5 separate regions of the Homo sapiens genome follow, and all the other regions are linked to region 2. Evidence: promoter capture Hi-C in 16 types of primary human blood cells and fetal thymus (Javierre and others, 2016). All regions are on one chromosome and are shown on one strand. Each heading gives the region's core, a stretch centred on a gene start or on the middle of the fragment in contact. The rest is flanking DNA. Distances are from core to core; before and after follow the strand shown. Region 1 overlaps SPRED1 (sprouty related EVH1 domain containing 1). Region 2 holds the start of LINC02694 (long intergenic non-protein coding RNA 2694). Region 3 has its middle 58 kb from the start of FAM98B. Region 4 has its middle 25 kb from the start of FAM98B. Region 5 has its middle 41 kb from the start of FAM98B.

Region 1 (3,972 bases), core at 593-3,092, 340 kb before region 2:
CCAGGCCAGAGACATGAGATGGCAATAGGGATCTGACAGGGTTCATCACTACTACCATTAAAGGGCTATTTATGTGGTGACCACCTCTACCAGGGAAACCAGGAATAAGAACTGTCTCAAAGGAATTGTAAAATGGTTATTTACCTAATGTGTCTTGTTGGCTTGCTGAAAGATTTTAAGCACTTTTTTCTTACATATCCTGTTTTAAAATATTTGTTGATATTTGGGACTGGCAATCAAACTTAATGGATGTACTGAGGCATTTATAGAACCAGTTGCTTTAACTCTCAAAAGCCATTACCAAAATGGTATTTTTTTCCTCCTTCCGCCAGTCAGGGAGAATTTTTAAAAATAATAATCAAAACATGAAAAAACATAATCACACCTGTATTTTATCATGACAGCTTCAGAGAGTGTGTGTGTACGTTTTTCTCTCTTTTATTTGAGACGGAGTTTCACTCTTGTTGCCCAGGCTGGAGTGCAATGGTGCGATCTCAGCTCACTGCAACCTCCGCCTCCTGGGTTCAAGCGATTCTCCTGCCTCAGCCTCCCAAGTAGCTGGGATTACAGGCACCCACCACCATGCCCAGCTAAGTTTTGGTATTTTAGTAGAGATGGGGTTTCACCATGTTGGCCAGGCTGGTCTTGAACTCCTGACCTTAGGTGATCCACCCACCTCGGCCTCCCAAAGTGCTGGGATTACAGGCATGAGCTACTGCGCCCAGCCGTGTGTATGTTTCTGAAATGATGATGGGGTGGGGTTAAAATCTAAAGGGAAAAACTTGAAACTACCTATTTTCATTGGTTATTCAGCAGTGCCTAAAATGAGCTTTTGAAGTAATGTAAATGCACTTTCAATTCATGTGTATAGTGCCATCTGATATCTTGGGTAAGTCTTGCTTTTTCTTTTCTTTTTCCTCTCCCCTGCCCCCTTAATTAAATGGCACGGAAATGTTTCTTAATATGCACGTGAGTCTCCAGAGTACAGGAAATGTGCTTTCCTCTAAATGGTCAATGTAAAGAATCTTAAGGATATTTCTTGTGTTGAAATTTACATTCGATTTTGTGATTACACTTGGAAGTATGTGTTAAATTGGGTTTTTAATTGTAGCCCAAAGGTGCATTAAGCAAGTGTAACATTTTTTCCACATAAAACTTAGAAAACTTTAGTTACCTGAAAAGCAAGGATTCTTTACTAATTATTATGCTCATTCTTGATTTGACTTCCATGTTCACACTTCAAAGTGTAAGAGGAAGCACTAGAAACTGGCATTATTGTTGCACTAAAAAAGTCTATAAATCATAATAGCACCATGAGGTGTTTTGCAATGAGACAAACATGAAGAATGAATTTCTTTAAGAGAGAAACACAACCGGAGGTGATTTATATAAACCAAAAGAAAAAAAAAGGCTTTAAGGTATTAGGTACTGTTTGCCTAGCAGCCAGGTGGTTATAAAAGATTCATATGCTTTGGTACACTGATAAATGTTAGCCATTATTCCTGAAAGCTTCTTAAATTGCATCAGTTGTTTTGAAATTTTTTCAAGAATAAACTAGTTGAAAAGTCTTTGTATTAAAAATACACATAGATTTTTGTGAACATTTCCAGTGTGTAGTGTCGTTTGCTTTCTATTTCTGACCTCAAAAGTGCCTCACTTGTATATTATTTCCATTAAAAGCTTGACTGCATTCTTTCTAATGAACAATGAAAAACTGTTTAACTCATGTCATAATGTGTCTCCTCAGATATAGTTAACTAGCTTGATAGTTTTGAGTATATAATGTAAATAATACATTATAAGTTTGTAACCATTTCTGTTACTTCATACCCGTGTAATTGGACATAGCAGATGATTATCATAAGAATTTGTTTTAATGGTTTTTTTCCCTCCTGGAATTACCTGATTAAACCTGTCATGAATTATAAAAGGACTTTTTCTTATTCTCCTAGAGCTTATCAAATTATCACATAAGAGATAATTACTGGAGGAGAAAGTAAAAATGGAAGCTTTTGATAATTAGCTCTGTTCTTTAAAAGTATACTTTTAAACTGAAAGTTCACATATAGTTCATCTTAATAACATATTTATTCATCCTTAATTGTATTCAGATTTTTTTTTAAGTCTCTAAGCTAATAATGTTATATTTATTGGTTTGGTAACATGTTGCAGCTAAGCTAATGACCTTAAGTGGCAATTGTTTAACCCAGGACTACTGATTTTTTTATATTCAAGTCAGTTTCATCGTTTTACTTAACTCGCCATATAACCAAAAATAACGAATAATCTAAAGGAAAGGTTATTAGGACAGTAATAAAAAATTATAGTGTATCTCAACACTAGAATAAGTTGGATTACTATATTATAGTTTATTTGAAAAATCAAGGAGTAACTGTATCTTTACCATTAATTATGAAATGTAGTCTCATGTGCTTATTTACAGGTTTTTCAGAATTTGCTTTACATTCTTCACATCAAGTTAATACCCACAAGTAAGTAGAATAGCTTTTATAACAAGGAAATTGAAACTAGGGTTCTAGCTTGGCTATCAATATAAGTGTCATGCACATAGTGCTCCTTAAAGAAAAAGACATCGACATCAATGGTATGAAAGCTGTAGTCACTCTTTAAATTGAACTGCTCTAAGATTTGCAGTTTTAGTGAGATCTGAAATGATGGTTCAAAAAATACATTCATAATAAAAGTCTTAACAAAATCACAGTTGAAATAGTGTTTCTTTTGTCTTTATTTTTGTTACATAATGTATTTTATACATGATTACTTTTAATCCTCAAGTAACCTTGTAAGTATTATCTTCCTTATTTTTCTAAGGAAGAGATTTGGGCATCAAAAGGTCAAAATACCAGATAACACAGAGGCACCAGGTCTGAAACAAATTGACTCCAAAGCATAGGCTTTTCTTCCTGATGCAGTTTCAGCTTTCTGTTACAGGAGTCACAGATACACTTCATAAAATAATCATTCTGTTAAAATGAAATTCTATTTATTATTTTAAGCTGGAGTAATTTTGTTTTATAAAGGAATAATTTCTTAATTTCTACTCTCCCTTGTCCATTTCTGGGCCCCCTATCTCACTAAGTTGTGGTACGTGATCCACAGTATGGCATGGGAATTTTTTAAATTGGAGGATAATTGTGATAATGCTTCAAGATATGCCAGTTGTGAGTTGATCCAATGGGAAGCACTAAAAACATACATAGTTCAGTTTGTGGAATTGTTCATTTTGCTCAATTGGTGGTATTTTATTGGAGGGATTCATTTTCACCAAAGCAGCAATACTTCTCCTTGAGGCAGTAGGAAACAATGCTCTAAAATGAGCCGTGTATACAGTACTCTTCCGACCTCCCGCTCCCCCCGCCCCCCCCCCCCCAAATGATGAGCGATTCATCTGTCAGTTATTCCACAGAGCCTCTTTTGGGAACCAAAGTTGCATTTATTGTCAGGACTACTTTTTTTTTTTTTTTTTTTCTGGAGACACAGTCTCGCTCTGTGCCCAGGCTGGAGTGCAGTGAGCAATCACATTACACTGCAAACTTGACCTCCCAGGCTCAAACAACCTTTCCACCTCAGCCTCCCAAGTAGCTGGGACCACAACAATTGCCACCATACCCAGCTAATTTTTTTCTTTTTTTGTAGAGACAAGGTGATGCTGTGTTACCCAAGCTAGTTTCGAACTCCTGGGCTCAAGCAATCCTTCTACTTCGACCTCCCCAAAGTGCTGAGATGACTGGCATGAGCCACCGCACCCGGCCAGGACTACTACTGAAACATGTTTCCCACAATGAGATTAGTATTCTCTCAAAATTACTGGTTCTGTTAACCTGGAAATAATTTATAATAACCAAGATGCTATGTGCAATTAGGAAGAAAGGAGGACAAAGAATTCCAGAATATTCAGTATTGAAATGTCAAGACTATTATCTCAACAATAAAATTTAAATTAAAATTTAA
Region 2 (3,945 bases), core at 448-2,947:
TTGAGGATGTTCTGCAACGTGGGACTTTATTTTTGCTATTGATTTTGTGTACTCGAAATTATTAGCCTAAGTCCCCAGTAAAGAGATTGGGTCTATGACCTGGGCTAGTCTCAATGAAAAGGAAGAGGGAATTCACCCGTTTCCCAAAACTTGGGTGGTTGAGATGATGTAGGCAGTTTTGAGGTAGAGCAGAATTGGGGGGCGGGTGCGGGGAGTCAAGGATTCTTCCATTCCAGGTTGGGAATCTGCAATCCCTTTGATGTAATAGCATGCCAGATGTTTGAACTATGAAATTGTTTCTGGGGTTCAGACTGTAGAACCCACTGAGGCAGAAATGTGGGAACTTGGTAGGAAAACATAAAGATGACAGCATGTTGGATACTTCAAGAAGGTACAAGGTCCTTTCCACGGAAGTTTTGCTAAAAGTGGATCAGGAACAAGAGGTGAATTATGTAACTTTGCTTCAGAAGCCACATCTACCTGTAATCAGCCATCAGAGGCTGAGGAAGGTCAGATTATCTTGTGTCTTCCTTATCATCGCCATCACTATCAGCAGCAGCAGCAGCAGCAGCAGCAGCAGCAGCAGAGTTCTCTGTCACACTCTATTACTAAAGCTAAAGATTGCATGTGATTATAGATATTTATTATTCTGGTCATTGTCATGGTGATCTTTGCGGAAAGATATTAGAGGAAAACTCCCTCCTAGTCATATCTGGAGGCCAATGTCCTTAAACAGAAAACTGGGGTCATACCCTGTAAAACCTATCAGACCAAGTAATCCAGAGCTGGGATGGGGGCAGGATCTCTTTAGAGTAAGACTTGCCTTCCAAGCCACATAACTGTCATCTGGAGCTTGTCACTGCTGACAATTTTCCTCCTTGCTGCCAGCTTGCTCTGTATCACGCAGGGCTATCATCAGTAACTTAGCCCTAAGAGGGGTACAGGAAAGATTAAAAAAAGGAATGCTATATTTGTGGGGGAATCATTCTCTAAAAGTCTCCCTTGCCAGCAAATTTTAAGTGGTAGGAGCAGTGGTTGTCACCACAGCTGGCACTTTGGGTTTTGTGGTGTGAAGCAAAGGCTTTTTAACTGAGAGAGGACTGGTGCCCATTCCTGGTGGCAGCTCCTGCCACTGGAAGCCTGGTTGGCCAGAATGTGATGCTGTGATGGGGACTGCATCTGGATCCCAGCTGTCAGGACCTGGCTTCCAGATCTGAATTCTAGAGCAGAGGGAGGGAAGGCAGAACACCTACCAGCACACTAATGTTTCAAGTTTGGCCTAGAGCAAAGAGCCTGAGTTGCTGTTGGCCAAACGTTGGCCTGTGTTTGTCAGACTGGGCTGAAGACTTCCTCCCTGGTCTATCCTTCACCTCTTATGCCACAGTTTTGGGAAACACTGTGCTCAGCAAGCTGAACTGCTTCTTGGGTGTGCGACTAGGGTGCCAGCCAGGCCAGGGACGTCCAGGACTGGAAGAAATGCAGGGGCAGGACCACAGCACAGGCTGATCAGGAGGCTGCCCCACCAGGAGCTCTGCTGAAGGCTGCATCCTCTCTGCTGAGAGTCAACCACTGTGCTGACTCACCATCCTTGTGGTTGAGAACCCATCAGCAAATTGGTGGCTCTGATGAGCCCTGGAGCTGCAAAATATAGGCCGGGGTACCTCAGCCGGAAGGGACTTCAGTTAGTGACAGGTTTTCTGTTCTGATATGGAGCTACAAGGGGCCCAAGAGGACCTGGGCATTTCCCTCTCTAGTCCCCGGAGGAACCATGAAACCAGGCCAGGAAGCAAGGCTAAGGGCAGGAGCAGCATCTGTCTCCAGGCGTCTGTTTGGATGGCTGTAAGTCCCACCTTGCTCTGTTTTTTTCTGCTATGGCTGAACCTGGATCTAGCAGGGTTCTCAGTTTCTGCTATGGCTGAACCTGGATCTCAGTCCCCTGGTGAGCTTAGCTCCTGCCTCCCAGAGAACTGGAATGACCTTATTCAGACACCTCCAGCCTGTATAAGTCAGGGGCAAGGACTGGGGAGTCAAGAGGGTTAAGGGAGTGAGAGGTGAGAGTTACAATCTACATTGTATTTTATGTCAACAGCATCCCCTGGAGTACTGCAAAGCTCTAAGTCAGATATCCCAGTGGGGGGCATCACCCATCCTAGACTTTCTCCCCTGCCCCATGCCCCTTATACCAACATCAATTCAGCACATAGCACTGTACTTGGCCATTAAGATAGTAAATAAATGCCTGGTGAATAGTTTGATAGACAGAAAGATGCCCACTCCCCCAACCCAAAGATGTTTACATTCTCATTCCTAGAAACTGTAAATATGTTATCTTAATAGCAAACAGGATTTTGCAAGTGTGGTTAACATTAAGGATCTTGAGATAAAGAGATTATCCTGGATTATCCGAATGGGCCTAATCTAATCCTAAAAAGCAGACAGGCTTCCCTGGGTGCAGTCAGAGACAGAAATGCAGCTAGGGGAATTGGAGTCAAAGAGAGGGCCATGAGAGAAGGATTCCATGCCCTGTGGCTGGTTCTGAGAGGTAGGGACTCTATGTAAGGACAGAGCAAATGTCTTCTAGGAGTTCAGGGTGGCCCCAGTTAGCAACCAGCAAGGACCTCAGTCTTACAGTCCCACGGAACTGTCAAGACCAGAATGAGCAAAGATAGTGATGCACCCCCAGAGCTGCCACCAAGGAACGCTGTCCTGCCGAGACGTTGATTTTAGTCCTATGAGACCCATAGGACTTCTGGCCCATAGAACTAAATGATAGTGTGTGTTTTAAGCTGCTAAAGTTTTGGTAATTTATTATAGTAGCAACCGATAATAGAAATGGCTATAAAATGGAATGTATTTTGTAACTGAACATAATTTTCTTGCCTCTGGTGTCCCTAATTTCCTTGGTGGCTGGCAGTCATAGAGAAGTCCTTTTCCATGGTTAGCTGTGTGCCAGTGACGGGGAGGGCATCCTTACTCTGGTCTCAAGTGCTTCTTGGCACCCCTGGGTTTACTTTTTTGCTGATGTCCCCTGGCATAGGTGTTGCTAGAAGCTGGCGTTTTTAGGAAGCACGTAGAACTCTCTGCTCCTTCATAGTCAGTCAGTGGCTCCATCCCAGGCAGGTGCTCCAGACCCATCCCATTCATTAGTCATCTATTCTGTACAAGAAACTTGATGAATTTTATTTCATTTAATTCTAACAACTATATGAATTAGGTAATGTTATCCCCATTTTACAGGGAGGAAAGCTGAGGCTCAGAGCAAGTGAACATCTAACCCAGGGCCACCAACAAGAGCTCAGGGATTGGAATCTGGGAGAAGATGCTTCCCTTCTCTTCTCCAAGAGTCCTTTTGGGGCTGGCAAGTTGATACAAGCTCCAGCTCATGTCTTCAGACAATGCTGGGTCCAAGGAAATGCATGGATCTCCTGCATTACAAAGTTTGACTCCAAGAGAAGCCCAGAAGTGGCTTCCAGCCCCTCCTACCTAACTGTGCCCCGCCGTTCACCACTTCCTGTCTTCCTGCGACCCAGTGACAGATGTGTCTGTGGGGGCTGCTACTTGGGAAAGTCCACCAGGAGGAGAGCATGCCAATCTCTCCTCTCAGATCCTCTGGGGGTTACTTTCCCCACCCAAACTAGGCCTTGATGTCAAGGCCTAGTTACAGGGATGTCAAACTAGGAGGTTGATGTCGGTGTGGTGTGTAAGATGTTGGGGAGAAGCTGCAGGTGCCTTCTTACCAGCTCTTCCTGAAAACTTGTCTCTCCCTCTCCTTGTTAGTCTGTTTTATAACTCACACTCCAGCCGGGGGGAAGTAAAGGAGCTTATCCCGTTCACAGATCCTGTAACCCATGGTGGTTATTACCTCATAGCTGGTGCAGTGTTCTTTGAGCCTAGCAGTTTGGTTTAGACTCAAGTGTCTATTCTTTGCAGTCTTTCTGGGGTTGG
Region 3 (3,673 bases), core at 1,103-3,602, 300 kb before region 2:
TCATTTGGGCAAATAATTTTTTCTCTCTCTGGGTACGTCTGTTTCCACATTTATATAAAAAGAAAGAGCTGAACTAGATAATCTGTAAGGCCCCATCTGTGCCTCACATGCTGTCTCTCTCTGCCACTATTGTTAAAGGACAACACACTATTGGTTGATTTTAAATGTTTACTTTTGGAAAATTTCAAACCTATACAAATGCAGAGAGAATGGTATAACAAGCCCTCATGTACTCATCACCCAACTTCAACAAATACAAACTCATGGCCAATCTGGTTTCATTCATACCCTCCTAACTCCCAGGCACTACCACCTACTACCACCCCACTAGATTTTTTAAAAGCAAAACCTAGACATTATCATGTCATTCATAAATATAGTATACAGCTCTAAGAGATAAGGGTTCTTTTTTAAAACATATGAAACTATTTAAAACATTTTTTGCTGAGATAAAATTCACCATTTTATCCATTTTACAGTATATAATTAAATGGTTTTTAGTATATACACAACGTTGTCCTTCACTAGTAAAGCTGTCCTTCTCTATGGTGGGCATGGAAAATAGGAAATTCCCTTCCATCACCCCAAAAAGAAAACCCTTACACATTAGCAGCCACTTCCAAATCCTCACAACCCTTTAGACTACTTTCTGTCTCTATAGATTTGCTTATTTCGAACATTTTATATAAATGGAATCATACAATGTGTGGCTTTTTTGGTCTGGCTTCTTTCACTTAGGATAATGTTTTCAAGACTCATCAATATCATAGAGGTATCAGTACTTCATTCCTTCTTCTGGCTGAATAATATTCCACTGTATAGGTAAACCCCATTTTGTTTTCCCATTCATCAGTTGATCAACATTTGGATTATTTTCTCCACTTTTTGGCTATTATCATCAATGCTATTGTGAAAATTCACGTATCACTTCTTGTGACAGCATATGTTTTCTTTTCTCTTGGGTATATACCTAGGAGTGGAATTACTGGATCATTGGTTATTCTACATTTAACTTTTTGAGGAATTGCTAGACCGTTTTCCAAAGTGGCTGCACCGTTTTTATCTTCCCACCAGCAATGTGTGTGGTCCTGATTTCTCCACATCCTTGGTAACATGTTATTTGTCTTTTTTATTATACCCATTCTAGTGGGTGTGAAGTATCCCTTTGTTGTTTTGATTTGCATTTCCCTAATGACTAATGATGTTGAACATCTTTTCATGTCCTACTGGTTATTAATATAGATATTTTTTGGAAATTGTCTACTCAAGTCCTTTTCCCATTTTTAAATTGGGCTGTCTCTTTATTGTTGCATCTATGAGTTTTTAAGATATATTTTGGATACTCAACCCTATCAGATATATGATTTGAAAATATTTTCTCCTGTTCTGTGGATTTTCTTTTTACTTTCATGATAGTGTCCTTTGATGCACAGAAGTTTTAAATGTTGATAAAGTCCAATTTGTATGTTTTATTTGTTGCTGTGTTTTTGGTGTCATATTTAAGAAACTGTTTGCCTAATCCAAGATCACAATATTATTATTGAAACTAAAGAAATGACAACAATTTAATATATCATCAAATTTGTAGTCAATGTTCAGATTGTTTTTTGGTCTCATAAATGTCATTTTACAATTGGTTTTTGTTTGTCGGTTTGATTGATTAGGGAATTTAAACAAGGATCACAAGTTTCATCTGATAAGTCTCTTAAGCATTTTTTAAATTAAACACTCCTCTTCTTATTGTCTTTTTTCATTGTCATTCATTTGTCTGTACAATTTCTCACATTCTGGATTTTGCTGATTGAATTTCCAAGATAGCATTTAGCATGTTTCTCTGTTTCTTGGAAAGCTTGATCAGATTCAGATTCCATATTTTGGCAAGATGATTCCATAGGTAGTGCCATATAATTCCTACTGCTTTCTATCAGGAGGCACACACTGTCTGATTGTCTCTCATTTTGTGATGTTAAGATTGATTGGTGAGTTCAGATATTGTCAGCTTGACCTGCTCATTATACAGTCCCCCATCCTCTTTCATTTTACTTTATTTTTTTAGAGATGTGGTCTTGCTGTTTTACCCAGGCTGGAATGCAATGGTGTGATCATAGCTCACGGCAGCCTCGAGCTCCTGAGCTCAAGCAGTCCTCCCACTTCAGCCTCTCAAGTAGCAAAGACTATAGGTATATACCATCATGCTTGGCTAAATAAAAAAACAGTTTTTTTTAAGAGATGGGATCTCACTATGTTTCCCAGGCTGGTCTCCAACTCCTGGCCTCAAGCTGCTTCTCCGGTTTCAGCCTCCAAAGCACCAGGATTACAGGCGTGAGCCACTGCACCTGACATCCCATCCTCTTTTAACTAATGGTTTTAGCAAGTCATTGATTATTATTGCCTGGATTTATTATTTTATTAGGGGTTGCAAAATGCAACTGATTAATTTGCCCAATGGCTATTGCCTATCGAATATTGAAACTTCCAAGTGTATTATTTGTTTTCAATAATGCCGGGCAAACTGCTGATACTTCTCTGTGTTCACCCTTCTCCGTATATTCTGATTTTTAAACTCTTTACATTTTTCGAGCTAGGTTGGTGGTAAGATCATGTTGTTCATATTCCAAGGAATTGTCTTGACATTTCTTTACATTATGGTTTCAATCACTCCACCGAGTAAAGGTTCTGGACATTGTTTGCATTGACAGTCCTTGGCATAATCATAAAATATTTGAAGATGGTCTTTTAATTATCTTTTCTCTCCTTCTTTAGAATCCTCAATTTCTATACTTTCCCCATCTCTCCCCTCAATACACATATCTTTTATCTTTTAAAGACTTTTCTATAATCAGAATGAAACAGAAGAAGCTTTATACTAATGTGTAAGAGACTTGCTGTCTTGCCTCTCTATGAGTTTGCATTTTAAAGGGCGAAAACATACATTTACTTAACCTAAAGAAATGAATCCTGAGTGATGAGATGCCAAGCTCCAGTGCTGGAGCCTTTTTTTTTTTAAGCCAGAATTTTCCCTGAAAAAGATCACGAATGCCATATCATTTTTACCATGAAAACACAGAGTCTAGCCTGCATGTGTGTCACTCTTTGGGCTGGGAACCTCTGTGCTCTCGGCTGTCCTTTCTCAAAAGCTTCTTGGTTTCTTCTGTGTCTCAAGAGCCAGTGTCAAATGGCTAAATGAGGAAAAAGATTGTTGATAGGACCATGGCATCTTAACATCCAGGTTTAGGTTATAGTTACTTGAGAATTTAGACTTTGCTCTCTCAATCAAACAACACTTTTAAAATAGCTTGTTGATTAGGATTAGCTTTGGCTGTAAGCAACAAAGAAACCTAAAATAACAATGGCTTAAGCAGGATGGATGTTTATTCCTCTCATGTTCCTGAGAAGTCGAGTTTGTCAGTCCAGGACAATCTGGGCACTGCAGAGGGTCAGAGACCTAGGCTACTTCCACTGTGTGGCTTCACCATGCTGATTCCCTTCTCAAGGACCCCTTGGCCCAGACTGATGGCTAGAACATCACTCATTGTTATCTGAATTCCAACTAACAGAAAGGAAGAATGGAAAAACAAAGAGCATGCCTGTGCCTTTCAGGGAAGCGCTCATAAGTTGCACGTGCCGCTTTCTCTCTGCATTAGCAGAATTAGCCATATGACCACACCTAGCT
Region 4 (4,060 bases), core at 485-2,984, 270 kb before region 2:
TAAAATATACAGATTCCTAGACCCCATCCCCTCCACTGGATCAGAATCTCTGAGGATGGAGCCTGGAAGTGCCTGTCTAGAAAGCCCTCCAGGTGGTTCTGACATCCCTGCTTCTGGGCCAGCTGTGAGTGAAGTCAGTCAAACCCCTGTGTTTTTGCATTCTTAATTAAATAACATGGAAAAGCTAGGACCCAAAATACAACTGGAATGATTCCTTGCAGCAGCAGTTCTCAAAAAATGATTGTTGAATGAGAAATCTTTGCTCAAAGAAATGTTAGCCTGATCTGTAAACTGTGAGGCCAACAAGAGGATCAACCTGAATTACTCCAGCAGGTGGTGGTATGGGATGTAGAGGTAGGGGTGAGGTTAGCTGCATCCTGCCTTTGGCTGAGAGGCTCACTCACACTTCTGTCACCTTTTGTGTAAAGAATAGCAGCAGGATCCAGCATTCTCCATTCTCTTCTCCAGTCAGAAACATTGAATTGCCAAATATATTTTCCTGAAAATCTCTCTCTCTCGTCTCTCTCTCTCTTCATCTCTTTTGAGACTGGCTCTAGCTATATAACCCAGGCTGGTCACAAACTTCTGGCCTCAAGCAATCCTCCCACCTCAGCCTCCTGAGTACCTGAGTAGCTGGAATTACAACCACAAGCCACCATGCCTGACTAAAAACCTCTTTTTGTCTTGATATTCCTCTAATCAGAAATCTGCATTGGCACTTTAGTTCCTACCAGATAAAATAGAAATCTGGAGGTCTGGTGTTTCAAGACTGGTCTCAATCTACATTTCCAAACTTATATTCCATTCCTCTCCCTTTTGGAGGTCTTCTCCTGGCCCGAGCTGTCCTGGTTACTCTTTCCATAATTGTTTTCAACTTCCTTACCTTAACCCCTTTCTGGAATGTCTTCTTTCTCACCCAGGTTGAAATTTTACTCTTCAGTCAAAGCCCCACTCCCTTCCTGTGCCTTGGTGGAAGAGTTTTCTCCACTGCTGCTGGTCTGTAATGGCCTCTCCTGCCTCTGAGGTGCTATTAAGACTGACTGCCTATGTTACTTTTGGCCTTGACTATAACTAGTAACTATAGCTTTGAAAACAGGATGATATTGGATTATTATTTATTTTCCCCTCAGGGTATATAGTTCAGCACCTTGTACAAAATATGCATTCAACAAACAGAAGTCAATTTATTGAATATTAGATGTTATTTATTAGTTACTTAGAAATATAACCTCATATAAATGTCAAGAGTATGGGGGTTTGAATGGTAATTCTTCTACATCAAAGCATGGCATAGTAGGTACTGTGAAATGCACCCTGCTCTCCCCCATTGAATATGTATGCACACACACACACACACACACATACAAACACACACACACACACACACACACACACACAAGCTTATCTTTGGAGTTCAGGTGAGAGCATCTTAACCTCAGAAAACGTTATCAGGCTTGTATTAGTCAAGAGTAACTCCTAAAAGTAGCTTGAACAAAGTAGCTTTAAAAAACAGGAGCGTATTAGCCTCTGTGATGGGCAATTCAAGAGATGGATTTTTTAGGCAGAGCTAGATTGAGGGGTTCCAGTGTGCCCCAGCTCTGCTTTAATCCATGTTGATTTAATTCTCAGGCAAATTCTTTCCACGCGATGATGGAATAACTCCAAGTTCAAGTCCTTACAATGGGAGATCCCAGAGAACAGAGAGCATCTCTTTCCAATACCATAGAGACCTGCTCTATGAGTGACCACTGCTTTCTTATTGATGATGTCCCTGGAACTATTCTGCTACATCCATGTATTACAGGGGACACCCCGTGGCAATCCTAATCCCTAGTTAATCCCCACTTTCCTAATCCTACTTCAGAAGCAGCCTCCAATCCAGAACCGATGTTCAGTTCCTGGATCCTGCTCAAAATCCTTCAGTGAAACACACACTGTACAGAAGACGTTTCCTGCTCCTTCTTGTTGAGTGGTCTGCCACAGTGCTTCTGCCATGTGCTCCCTCACTGAAAATCAATACATCTGATTTTGTCAGATTATACATTGTGCCCAGTGGTCTTTGGCTAATTAAGCTTTAACAGGGAAAGAGGAGAAATGAGCTGCTATATATTGCTTTTACCCTAAATTAGTCCCTAGAGGATGTTTTCTGATCATATTTTTTTCCTGTGTCCTTGACTTCCTTAAGCAGCGCCTGTTCATTTTCACTGGAAATGTTCCAAATGGATCAGAATAATTTTGACATTGTGTCACCAGGGACATCCTCCTTTTAATATCTAGCATCACACAAAAACAAACATTGCATTAGTCCTGAAAGAGTTCTGACTCTACATAATTAATTTTCAACACAAAACTAATATAAATAGGAATGTGGAAAAAATAGGTATTAAAGGTAAAATGGAGGCTGGGCACAGTGGATCATGTCTGTAATCCCAACACTTTGGGAGGCTGAGGCAGGAAGATCACTCGGGCCCATGAGTTCAAGACCAGCCTGAGCAACATGGTGAGACCTCATTTCTACAAAAACATACAAAAATTAGCCAGATGTGGTGTGTGTGCCTGTACTCCCAACTAATCAGGAGGCTGAGGTGGGAGGATCACATGAGCCTGGGACGTTGAGGCTGCAGTGAGCCATGATGTGGGTTTGAATGGTAATTCTTCTACATTAAAGCATGGCATGGTAGGTACTGTGAAATGCACCCTGCTCTCCGCCATTGAATATGTATGCACACACACACAGCCTGGGTGGTAGAGCAAGACCTTATCTCAAAAAAAAAATTTAAAGATAAGATGGAAATGGAAATATGACAGATCAAGATAGTGACTGCTTGTAGCCCAATGTAAACTTATCTGTTTGAATTTCTTCTCTTTAGAAGCTTATTTCTATACCATTAAGTTCATGTTATCTGTGCTGCTTAACAAACCTATTTGCCAACTTCAAATAACTATTTCACCAACCTCGTGGATTCTTTGGGTCAAGAATTCAGAAAGGATACAGTGGGGATGGCTTATCTCCTTTTGGTATATCTGGGACCTCAGCTGACAATGACACAAACACTGGGAGTGATGATGGCTGGGAGCAAATGTCAGCTGGAGGTTTTGTCTTTCACATGTCTGGCAGTCGATGCTTGCTGTGTGCTGGGACATCAGTTGTAGCTGTAGGCCAGAACACCTACCTAGGACCCATTCAGGGGGATTGTACTTCCCGCTAGTATCATGGCCTCAGAATTTTCTTACATGGCAGATCAGAGCACCAAAGGCCAGTGTCTCAAAAGGACCACTTGGGAAGAGTGTTGCCTTTGATACTTAGCCTGCAGTACAGCATCACTTCCACTGTGCTCTAGTGGGCTACCAGTCACATGCCTTCCCACATTTGAGGGGAAGGTACATGGGCCCTACCTGTCCATGGAGGAAGTGCCAAAGAATTTATGAACATGTTTTAAAACTGTCACAAATAATGATTCCTCCCCCTGTCTCTTTCTCTCTTTCCTTTTCCCTTTCTCTCTCTCTGTCTTTATATGTATCCAGTGATATCTATCATGTATTTATGTAGTGGTATACATTCAGGGATTCTTTCTGGAACTCATTTCTTGCTCTCAAGACATACCATACGTATTTTCAGTAATTTTACATTTGGAGTAAACTCAATTCAACTTAATTGGATTCAACTAAAGCTGAAATTTACTGAGAAAAGTATTCTGTGAAAGGGTTGAGTTCAATCCATAGTAACTTTAACTGGGGATTGAAAAATAGAAGTTTTGTCCTGTAGGGCAATCTGAGTACAGTCGTCCTTCGGTATGTGAGGAATTTGTTCTATGTCACCTACCTCACCCCACCTTGGATGCCAAATACTTAAAATTATCTCTAGATTACTTATGATACCTAATACAATGTAAATGCTGTGTAAATAGTTGTTATACTGTATTTTTATTGTGATATTGTGAATTTTTTTTTCTAATGTGTTCAATCTGAGGTTGGTTGAATCCCCAGATGTGGAACCTGAGGATATGAGTGTAATGGCATGGCTTCCATTGTGAGCCACTGCAATGCATTTTTGTTTGAG
Region 5 (3,758 bases), core at 250-2,749, 280 kb before region 2:
GGCCTCACAACCTAGAGTTTATGATCCAGTAGGTCTGAAGCACAGCCTGGGAATGTGCATTTCCAGCAAGCTCCCAGGTGATGCTGGTGATGCTGGTTTGGGGACCACACTTTGAGAACCATTGCTTTAGATATATGCTGATTGTGACACCTATGCAGGTTCTCTCTGCACGGGCTTAAGTCCTGTTTCTAATGTGTATGCTTTTGTGCCTGTCTTGCGAATTCTTTGTTTTTGTTATTTACATCCGTAATGTATTTCTGTTTCTTTAAATTCATGCATTCCAGAATTGCCTGATCCATTGAGTGGGGAACACTGCTCAGGGATCTAGCCACAAAAGCTATGCCCATTCTTTTTATCTATTGTGCTTTGTTTTTAAATTACACGTTTAAAACTAAATTACAATTAGGTTTTTTTTACTTTAGAGCATTGCACCTCTAAATCATCTCTAACCCCCAATGTCCAGTACTCATTTTTAATCAGTCTGCAGTTTTTCTGTGCCAGCCAATTGCTGATTATGCTCACCTTTTGCTCTTTGTAGCAGTTCCTCAAAGCTGCACTTTTTCTTCAGCCTCAATCCCTGAGGTCTTGGACCCTCTCGTATCTCAGGAACCTCATCCTGACCTGCAAGGCTGCAAACCTAGTGACCTCTTTGGTCCTATCTTCTTGCAGATCTCTGTGGGCCACTTAGCTACACTGTCCATTAGACACCACTGACTGCAGTAAATTGTCTGTTACATCTCTCCAGCCTGCTATCATTCTTCTCTTTGTCTCAAACTTCTTCTGGTCTCTGCTGACTTTGGGTCCCACAGAACCTCTGGATTCATCACTCATCAATCCCGCTAAGACCACGTAAGAAGGCATTACTTGTAAGAACAGTGTTGTCAGGGAGACTTTAGCCTAGAAATAGCAGCCACTTTTCTCAACAGTCTTTTCCTGTTCCTGCTTTCAAAAATCTTTCCCCTTTTTCACAGCTTCAGGGTAAGAGACAAAACAGCTGTGCTTTATGTTTGAAAACTGCAACGCACATTCAAAATTCTACAATCCCAGCAGAAAGCCTGTTTTCAGCACTTTTTTTTGGAGAAGTAGGCAAAGCTTATTATTTTATTTTAATGTAACTTTGCATGTGTTTTAATTACACAAGCAATACATTTTTATTGTTGAAAATATGAAAGATATAGAAAGCAAAAATAGAAAAATAAACCATGGATGATCCGAAAGATAAAAATCACCCAGAGATAACCTATTCGGCACTTTCAAATTCTCCTAATTTGTATTTTTTTAGCAGAAAAAAACTTTCCTTCAAATAAAATCACACTGAGAGGCCCAATACATAAACAGATAAACCTGACTTGGATTGGAGGCAAGGGAGTGAGGTCCAGCTGCTCAGCTTGACCCTCACCATTCATAGCAGACCCCAGCTGCTCAACTTGACCCTCACCATTCACCACAGACCCCTCTGCTGGATGTCAGCCTTCCCCAGGGCTATGTGAAACTGCACCTCTAGGTCATTTCAGCGCGAGACTTAAATACTGCAGATGTACTGCCAAAGGCATTTTAGGCTTGACACTCTGATTGCCTAGGGGTTGGAGCAGATGTTATTTTTGTATCGGTGGTCCTTTCCACTTCCACATATTCCATCTTGTCTTAGAGTTCATGTTGCCTCCAGTCTAAAGCACAGGTGATTAACCTGGGACTTGAACACTCCCCCCAAAATATATATCTATAGCTTTAATTAGTGTAGGGTTCATGTCAGTTTTTTTCTTGATAAATATTTTTGAAGATCTCAGCAATTTCTAGTTTAGCAATATAGTTGGAAACTTTGAATTTAAATAGTTAAATTGTTGAAAAATTAAATATTTAGAAACAAAAGTGAAAATAATTTGAGCAGATATTTTCCCCATTGCTTGTAAGCTTGACTTTGATGTGTCCATCATATTTTCCTTTATAATTGATTGGTATTTTGCTCCTGCAACGCCCAACTTTAAATGGAAATGTCTTACATCTGATATTTTCACATGACTATTAGGAGAGAATCATATAACACAGAAAGCTAACTTTAGAAAAAAATTAATGATAATGGTATTCATTTCTTAGAAATATACTTTTTACCTCTGTTTTTAGAATGTCATGAGGCCATAAACATATTACCGAAAAATTATGTTTTTAAAATTTTGGTAATTTCACCTATTTTAAATGCACTAGCAGGATTTCTTTCAAATGAAATCCTGTGATAAATGCATCCTTTAAAAAAGTGGTAGTGCCATTCACAATAGCAAAGCCATGGAACTAAGTGCCCATCAATGGTTGACCGGGTTAAAAAAATGTGGTGTATATACACCATGGAATACTACATAGCCTTTAAAAAAAGGATGAAATCATCTTCTTTGCAGAAACATGGATAGAGCTGGAGGCCATTATCCTAAGTGAACTAACTCAGAAGCAGAAAATTAAATATCACATTGTTCTCATTTATAACAATGGACATAAGAAGGAAATAATACACACTGGGGACTCCAAAAATGGGAAAGGAAGGAGAGGGAGAGGGTTGAAAGATTACCTACTGGATATATTGGATAAAACGTTCAATAGTTGGGTGACAGGTATACCAGAAGCCCAATGCCCACCATTCCACAATATACCCATGTAGCAAATATTCACTTGTACCCCCTGAATCTAACTTAAAAAAAAAAAGAATTATGAGAAAAAAGGGAGAGTGCTTTTGTATTGTTAACACTTGTGTAATGTGAATAGAGCTCTGTATCGTGTTGTTTTATAGGTTCCCATCTCATATTTGGAATTTCCAGAAAGTTGGGCTCATTGTGTATTGACTGTTCTATTCTGAATGCTAGTTCTATACAGGTCTCCTTGGACTGAGAGACACACAACTAGCCTAAATTCCTCTCACTTCTGAAACATTCCCTGCCCGAGTCCATAGCATACAGTTGGCTGTGTTGAAGCCTTTTAATGGTGGGGAAGCAGAGCTGGGCTGTGAATCCGCCCCACGTTGCTGATCTCCTTTCCCTGCTAAGGCATGTTCACTTCCTAATGTTGTACAGAATAGTTTTCAGCCTCATTTATCCCTTATTTTGTGTCCATGATAAAATTTATAACAGAATTAAAAGGATAGATTGAGATATGTATGTGTAGATTTCCTAAATTTCCTGACTCTTCTTGGGGACCTCAGTTAGTTTCATTTAATATCCTTTTGTTTCTAATGATTATTCTTAATGTACCATTGTAGCACTAGGTGCTCTCCTGTTAGTGGCTATTTGGGAGAAGAGGCAGAATTCCATGGTTAAGAGTTTTAAAGAACAAAATTAAAGCCACAGGAAGCATCCATGTGGCTTTCTCTAGTGTGTCCAAAGCAGTTCTCTCTGCTCCCTGGAGCTGTGGTCCCCCCTAGTGGTTCCACAGTGATTTCTCCTCCTAGTGCCTTATTCAGTGGGGCTGCACTGCCTGCCAGCTGGTAGCTCCAGTTTGTCACAGCAAGTTCTGCATCTCTTTAAAATCAGTTGAATTCAGGGCTTTTTGTTCCATGTTGCTTGGCTTTAAATAAATTTAAAAAAAAAAAGGTCCATGAAGCATGGAAACAGTAGGTAATTAAAATTTTTCATTTTCCCTTGTTAGACGCCTGCTCTCTTCAGATGAATCCTTTCCATGTTTTGGCTGATAGAACACAAGTGAGGTCAAATGTAGAGAGGCATGGATGAGTGCTTGTTCAGGACACAGCACCTTCAATGGCTGACTCTCTGAGCAAA

Evidence for each region. The method cuts DNA at HindIII sites, captures the fragments that hold promoters and counts their contacts. A CHiCAGO score of 5 or more calls a contact.
Region 1: a contact is called between a fragment that was not itself captured here and the fragment with the promoter of LINC02694 in region 2, in 1 of 17 cell types (M1 macrophages). The highest score is 5.1, in M1 macrophages.
Region 3: a fragment that was not itself captured here is called in contact with the fragment with the promoter of LINC02694 in region 2 in 1 of 17 cell types (naive B cells); the score reaches 6.3 in naive B cells.
Region 4: a fragment that was not itself captured here is called in contact with the fragment with the promoter of LINC02694 in region 2 in 15 of 17 cell types (naive B cells, total B cells, naive CD4 T cells and 12 more); the score reaches 21.7 in naive B cells.
Region 5: a fragment that was not itself captured here is called in contact with the fragment with the promoter of LINC02694 in region 2 in 1 of 17 cell types (total B cells); the score reaches 7.0 in total B cells.

Annotation. Positions count from the first base shown.
Region 1 is chr15:38,354,529-38,358,500 of GRCh38, forward strand. SPRED1 (sprouty related EVH1 domain containing 1) reads left to right here. Exons shown (of 7, transcript NM_152594.3): 7 at 1-2,721. Among named protein-coding and RNA genes, the nearest start is that of FAM98B, 98 kb to the right of the region's middle. The HindIII fragment of the contact is 329 bases long and covers 1,679-2,007 here.
Region 2 is chr15:38,694,901-38,698,845 of GRCh38, forward strand. It overlaps LINC02694 (long intergenic non-protein coding RNA 2694), which reads left to right and starts at 1,698. Exons shown (of 2, transcript NR_160786.1): 1 at 1,698-1,839; 2 at 3,238-3,945. RefSeq lists an enhancer at 1,808-1,857. The HindIII fragment of the contact is 8,690 bases long and covers 1-3,945 here.
Region 3 is chr15:38,393,949-38,397,621 of GRCh38, forward strand. No RefSeq gene overlaps it. Among named protein-coding and RNA genes, the nearest start is that of FAM98B, 58 kb to the right of the region's middle. The HindIII fragment of the contact is 1,010 bases long and covers 1,848-2,857 here.
Region 4 is chr15:38,427,235-38,431,294 of GRCh38, forward strand. No RefSeq gene overlaps it. Among named protein-coding and RNA genes, the nearest start is that of FAM98B, 25 kb to the right of the region's middle. The HindIII fragment of the contact is 672 bases long and covers 1,399-2,070 here.
Region 5 is chr15:38,411,155-38,414,912 of GRCh38, forward strand. No RefSeq gene overlaps it. Among named protein-coding and RNA genes, the nearest start is that of FAM98B, 41 kb to the right of the region's middle. The HindIII fragment of the contact is 819 bases long and covers 1,091-1,909 here.